Regions from separate parts of the Homo sapiens genome. Here region 1 is linked to region 2. The links are contacts of gene promoters, found by promoter capture Hi-C in blood cells and fetal thymus (Javierre and others, 2016). All regions are on one chromosome and are shown on one strand. Each heading gives the region's core, a stretch centred on a gene start or on the middle of the fragment in contact. The rest is flanking DNA. Distances are from core to core; before and after follow the strand shown.

Evidence for each region. The method cuts DNA at HindIII sites, captures the fragments that hold promoters and counts their contacts. A CHiCAGO score of 5 or more calls a contact.
Region 1: a contact is called between a fragment that was not itself captured here and the fragment with the promoter of COX6A2 in region 2, in 1 of 17 cell types (erythroblasts). The highest score is 5.1, in erythroblasts.

The regions. Positions count from the first base shown.
Region 1 is chr16:31,701,920-31,705,508 of GRCh38, forward strand. It overlaps the pseudogene CLUHP3. Among named protein-coding and RNA genes, the nearest start is that of KRABD5, 9.5 kb to the right of the region's middle. The HindIII fragment of the contact is 2,676 bases long and covers 170-2,845 here.
Region 2 is chr16:31,427,078-31,430,385 of GRCh38, forward strand. COX6A2 (cytochrome c oxidase subunit 6A2) reads right to left here and starts at 1,283. Exons shown (of 3, transcript NM_005205.4): 1 at 1,176-1,283; 2 at 938-1,074; 3 at 654-780. The coding sequence starts at 1,248. The coding sequence ends at 697. The HindIII fragment of the contact is 1,386 bases long and covers 658-2,043 here.

The DNA of each region.
Region 1 (3,589 bases), core at 258-2,757, 280 kb after region 2:
TTGCCCGACAGACTGAGATGTCAGGGGCAGCATGGAAAAGCAGAGAGGTGGGAGGGCAGGTTTCAGGTATTCTCAGTCCTCTGTGGTTTGGGGAATGTAGACCTAAGTGCAGGAGCCGGCAGGAGCTGGGGTTGCCTTTAGGCTGGTGCCTGAGAACACGGGCTTAAGAAGCTTGATTTTGGCTGGGTGTGGTGGCTCATGCCTGTGATCCCAGCACTTTGGGAGGCTGAGGCAGGCGGATCACCTGAGCTTAGGACCAGCCTGGCCAACATGGCCCCGTCTCTACTAAAAATACAAAAATTAGCTGGGCGTGGTGGCACATGCCTGTCCCACCTACTTGGGAGGCTGAGACAGGAGACTCTCTTGAACCCAGGAGGCGGAGGTTTCAGTGAGCCAAGATCACACCACTACACTCCGGCCTAGGCAACAGAGCAAGACTCCATCTCAAAAAAAAAAAGCAGCTTGGTTTTGTGAGCAGTGTGCTTCTTAGAAGGGTTCCAAGGGGCATTCTTGAAATAGGAGATGGGAAATTGAGGTTGGGTGACTAGATAAGTGGTGGGGGGCCTTCACACGCTGAGACCAGTTTGTGGAGGAAGATGAATTTCATCCCTGCAGGATGGGTCTTCCATGATACTGAAGGGAGAGCCACATGTTGATGCCCAGGACCAGCTGCCTCCTTGGTCTGAAAGGCCTGATCGAGGCCAGGATTGGCTATGAGAGCTGGGAAATGGGACCATCTTTGAAGCCATGGGAGAGGGTGAGGTGAGAATGAGGAGAGGCTGGGGGGCCCAACACTCCCAGCTCAGGACTGGAGGAAGAGGATGGAGCTGGAGAGGGAGGGACGAGGGTGTGGCATTGGTCAGGGAGGAGGAAAGGAAATGAGCAGTGGCCTGGGTGCTGGTGAGTGGACAGATGTACCTGGGCTGGAGAAGCCCCTGGGGCTTGGCCCTGAGGGTGGCCTTGGTGATGTGGGGAGAGTGGTTTGGACAGCGAGCTCAGGTGGAAGCCAGACTGTGGTGGGCTAAGGAGCAGTTGAGGAGGGAGGCACAGGATGTGAAAGGGAGAAGGTGCAGCTTGCAGGTGTGCCGAGGGTGAGCTGGGACTGTGGAGTCAAAGCTCTGGAGGGCACGCGGACACCGTTCCATATGACTTGTGTCCATCCAAGTGGGGTGAGGTGGACAGCCCTCCCTCACCAGCAAGGCCCAACCAACTCAGTGCCTTTCTTGTCACCCCCAGAGCCACCATCACTCATGTTCTTGAATGGGAACTGCCTGGAGACCCTGAAGAAGAAGGAGCCTGAAGGAGGAAGGAGGAGGCTGAGCCATCCCGGGAACATGGGCTGGATGAGGCCAAGCCAGGAGACGACACCACCAGATAGAAGTCACCATTCAGGATTTGGACTTTTCTGTGGAGATCCTGGCCCCGAGATCGAACCCTTCTCCCTGTGGGTATGATGGAGGAGGGGATCTGGGGACCAGGGCTTGAGCCTGCTGGGGAAGATGATGCTGGAAAACTCAGCCTTGCCCTGGCTCTTTCTGGCCCTGTGCTATAGGCAGGAAATGGAGGGCCCTGGGCCCTGCCCGGGGTCACTCTGCTAATGTGGTGGACCTGGGAATGGAGTCCGGGTTCAGTTACTGCCTTATTGCTAGAGGACAGCTACCAGCTGGGCCTACCAGCCCTGTTCAGGGAGAGGAGTGGGAATGGGTGGGTAGTGTCAGGTCCCAGGATGCCCCAGCCTCTTGGCTCTGTGCCCTCAGGCAAGTCACCTCTCTATGGGCCATGGCCTTACCATCTGTCACCGGGGCCTGGAGGGTGGTATTGGGTGTTCTCCAAGGACAGAGCAAACCCGGAGGACTTGCAAGCTGGTAACTTGGTGGGGAGCCTGGCAAGACCCTCTCATGTCCTCTCTACTCACAGGCTTGGGCCCTGGAGCACCCCTTCAGGAAGGAAAAGGCCATTTGCCCTGGGGCACTCAGCCCTTGGCACTAGGCAAGGGCAAGAGCAAGCCTGCCGTTCCCCCTCCCCACTTTCTTCCATCTCCCTCTCCTTGGCTCGGGGGTTGCTCTTAGGCTGCAGGAAGAGTCAGTGGGGCCAGGCTCTGTCCTGCACTTAGGCACACAGGTGCCAATGGGCATGCTGTATATGGACAGGGCCTGGAATGTAAAAGCCCAAAAGTGGGAAACTGAGTATTTGAGACACTTATTCTCAGGACCCAGGTGTTTTGGGCTGGGGAAGGGGTATGTCCTTGCTCCCTACCATGTGGCCTCTGACCGGGCTGGTCCGGGCCTTCTCCCTGGCAGGTGTTCCCGCAGGAGATGGTGCTGGAGATCCACCAGCTGTTCATGGACCATGAATACCCATGTCACCACATCACTTCTCACTGCACCTGGGTGGCAGCACACTGGACCACGTCTCAGAGCTGCGCAGCATGGCAGGGCTGCAGGCGGGCTTGCTGCTCCACGTGGTGGAAGGTTGGTCTGGAAGTTGGGCAGCCTGCCCAGGGAGGGCCCCTGTAAGCAGGGCCGGGCAACACTGCACTGCCCCAGCTGGTGTCTCTATTTCGCAGATGAGCATATGGAGGTGGGATTGGAGCACAAGTCTGCTTTTCAGGGCATCATACCTGCACTCTCTAACTTCATGGCCCAGGGGTGAAAAAACAGTTGAAATTCTGAAAAGAAAGTCAGGCAGTATGAAGCTAGGGCTTGGAATCCGCCCTATTAAATTATGAAAAGATGAGTGCTTAGTTTCCTAAAGAAACTAAAGTTTCACAGTCCTTGAGTGGGGAAGTCGGCTCCAAGCAGCACCATCAGCTGGTGTAGTGAGCCTGGCTTGGTTGTCAAATAAAAGCTTCCGTAGACTCAAGTTCTCTGGGTGAAGCACTCAGGTTCCCAGGGCCTGACTACTTGTGGAAAAGGTCTGTAGCTCAAGGGGGCCCACAGTTCATCACAATTTCTCCCTTCCTCCAAAACAATGACCATTAAAATCCCATGAAACTCAATGGGGGCGTTAAATTTGGCAGCCCTAGAAAGTTGTCAGGCCACCCCTGCATGAAGGCTGCCCCAGGAGAGCAGGGTGAGGCTGCAGAGGCCTAGCGCACAAAAAGCAGGAGGCCTTTTGTGGGCTCCCCAAGGCCTGTGTGTGCTTCAGAAGCAACTGGCAGGAGGTTCTTTGCAATCAAGGATTCTTGCCCTTAGCAAGCCAGGGTGTGTTGTGTGTGTGTTTGTGTGTGTGTGTAGGTGCGCACGTGCACACGTGTGTATTGAAACCAAACTCTAGCTTATGTGTCCATAGTGGAATTTGAAAATGGAAGCCTAAAGTTGAAAATTAAAATTATCCATGAAGTTTCCTTGCCAACTATTTACTAAGCTGGGTGGGTTGTTCCAGGGTGCAGGGCCCTGGTAACACCCTCCTCTCTCCTGTTCCTGACAGAGCCCTGCACAATGCACAAGGCCCACGGTGATGAGTGCCACATTTGAGACTGCTCAGGAGCCTGGACCCAGCTGATGCAGCTCCTTGTCCTTCCTGAGCGTCTTCACTGACAGTGGCCTGAGAGGTGTGGAGGCATTGGGGCCAGAGATTGGGCAGGGGG
Region 2 (3,308 bases), core at 33-2,532:
GCAGTCCGCAGTCCGGCCTGGGCGACAGAGCGAGACTCCGTCTCAAAAAAAAAAAAAAAAAAAGAAAGAAAGATTATAGAGAATTATCAAAAGATTCCAAATCCAGCATTAGGTCCCAAGGCCTCACACACAGGACTGTGGAGCCTCCGTCTGAAATCCAGAGAGCTGGGATTCACAGACACCAGCAGCTCAGGTGTCAGGCAAGAAGTGGGACTTCAGGATCTGCAGCCCTGGGCTCCCATGGGGGCTCTGCCGAGCTGCCGGAACTTGGACAAGTCATTTAATTCCCAAGAATCTCAGGTCTTCCTCGGGAGAAGGTGAACTAAATTTATACCCTGCTCCCAGCGTTACTGTGAGGATTCGGTGTACGCGGAAGCCCATTACAGCCTAGAGCCCTAATTATTAATAGGTGTGTGTGAGAGGGAGGCCTCATTATTACCAGGTGAGAGACAGGGAGCTGGGATCGCCTACCTGTGAGTGGAGGAGGCTCCCTCGAGCACCTCCGTATCAGCGGCGTGGGAAAAGCACGTGGAGCGCCCACCGCGCTAGGCGCATGCGCGGAGCAGGAGCGCTTACCAAGCTGGGCGCATGCGCGGAGCGGGCGCCTCTGGGCGCGCTCCCCGTGGCCCCGCCCTCCCCACAGAGCCGCAGACTCGAAGCTTCACACCTTTATTGTGTCCGGGGGCGTCCGGGGCCTCAGGGGTGTTCGTAGCCCGTGGGCAGAGGGTTCACGTGGCTATTGTGGAACAGAGTGTGGTTGCCGTCCCCCCAGGGGTAGGGCTGTGGAGAGAGCGGGGGAGGGAGCGCGCGTGAGCGCCGTGAGTCCGGAGTCCGCGCCCCGCGCGACCCCCCCCCCGCAGCACCCCCCCCCGCCCCCGCAGCACCCCCCCCCGCCCCCGCAGCACCCCCGTGCCGCCCGCGCGCCCGTCCCGCGTACCTTGGTGCGGATGCGGAGGTGTTGGTAGGGACGGAACTCGGGGCGCGGGCGGTGGCCCGAGTGGAGATAGGAGTTGAAGGTGCAGAGGGCCACGCTGGGCAGCGCCAGCACGAAGGTCAGCAGACGCCAGGTACGAGCTGCGGACGGAGCGGGGTGAGCGCGGCGGTCCTGGGGCGGCGGGCCTGTGAACAGGTGGGCAGGGTAGGGGAGCCCCCGGATCCGCCCGTTCCCCACTCACCTCCTGCTCCTCCGTGGCCTCCTTTGGCAGCGCTGGCCAAGCCCCGGGTCAGGGGCCTCAGAGGCAAAGCCATGATGGTGCGGGGAGCCGGGAACCAGCGCTGTCCTCGCTCCCTTTCCTGGGGCCTGGGGTCACCTCCCCTCTCTGGGCCAATCACCTGTTGAGTCTGGAGCACTGGCGGCTATTCTTAGGGGTTTCTATATTTAAAATGGGGCCTGACTGGCTTGAGGTCATCTCCAGACAGCTGTTGTCCTGTGCCTCTTATTTTGGCAAGGAGGCATTTAAGTACAATATGCCATTCTTTTTATATAGTTGCAGGGAAACTATTTTGTTCCCTATTCTATGCCTGGTGGCTGGCACACAGTTGGGCTTTAATAAATATTTGTAGAATGAATTAAGTGTCTTTTTGAGTCTCAGTGTTTTCAGCTGTAAAATGTATAATAATTCGTACCTTAAAAGATTTTTTAAATACTGGAGACGGGGATCTCACTATATTGTCCAGGCTGGTGTGGAACTCTTGAGCTCACGTGATCCTCCCGCCTCAGCCTCCCACAGTGCTGGGATTACAGGCATGAGCCACTACACGGCCCTTACATCATTTTTATGAAGTTTATGTAAGGTAGGAATGTGTCAACCTGGATTTTGGCAGGTAACAGTAGTTCAGTATATGTATTAGTCACAGTTCTTTGCAAAGAACAGAACTCACTCTTACTAGTTTTAGAAGATAAGTAATTGAGAATCTTAGGTAGCTTACTATGTCTGATATAGCCAGAGATGCCTACAGTCTGCACAGTCATAAACAAGTCATTCCGTTGGCCAGCTGCAGTGACACCCCCACAGCTCACACTGCTGGACCCTGGATGCCAAAAGCTTCATTAAGGCTGCCCTGGAAAACCAGAATTTTCCACCCTCATCCCCTCTTGAAAACAGATTCTTCATGAAACCTGTATCCTGGGTCGCTCTTTTCTGAAAGAATTATGTGATTGCACCAACTGGCAACCCCTAGGTCCCCCAGCTGCAGGAGGGGATGGGAAACTGAGCTCTGGATTCTGCCTTAGGGAGGCAGGAATTGTAGGGAAAATCTCCAGGTCTAGGATGAGTATTCAAAAGGTTCCAGGCAGCCACAAGCCTGACAGGTGTCTACTGCAAAGTGCATTATTTCAATCTGAAAAATATGACTACTTGGAGAAAGCAAGCCTAGACAGGGCTGGTGTGAACCCTCTATCAAAGCAGGTCACAAGAAAGCCACAAGACCAGGCAGGGATGACATCTGCCTGTTCTGTCCTCAGCAACGGGCAGGGACCTTGGCATGAAGGAGGTGTTCTAAAAATATGTATGTAATGAATGCTTGAACCTTGTTACTTTGGTTAACCCTACAACAATGCCTTTTCAGAATTACAATCCAATAGGAAGCTTCTAGCTTTGATCAAGGGCTGATGTACTAATATGAACTTAATATACAAAAGAAGAATGAATTATATAGACATATAATCTGAATTTAATATATAAAAAAAACGAGGAAGATATATTTTCAAGAAGGGGCTCTATACCTGTTTCTCATTGGTAATAAACTGAACAGTATGTTCCATCCAACTTTAAGCTGCTGCTATTTTTAAAAAAAATAACCTCCTTGAGCAGTCAAATGTTATACAGTGTTACAAAAATTATTCCTGAGCTCTCACTGAGCTATAATAGAATTCTTCCTACAGTTTTTTTCCCAGCTGGACTTTGGCATTGTTGCAGAGAAGATGGGGCCCTATTCCAGTTAAAGATACCTGGCATCTCCCTCTACACATAGCCCCCTCCCTACGTATATAAGATAATGGCTCCTGGAGAAAACAGACATGAAGACAGGTATTTTTACTTGACAAAGTTCTAGAGGCCTGGCATAGTGGCCCACGCTTGTAATCCCAGCACTTTTGGGAGAATGAGGAGGGCGGATCACTTGAGGTCAAGAGTTTGAGTCCTGCCTGGCCAACATGGTGAAACCCCATCTCTACTAAAAATGCAAAAATTAGCTGGGTGTGGTGGCCCGTGCCTGTAATCCCAGCTACTCGGGAGGCTGAGGCAGGAGAATCGCTTGATCCCAGGAGGTGGAGGTTGTAGTGAGCCAAGATTGTGCCACTGCACTTC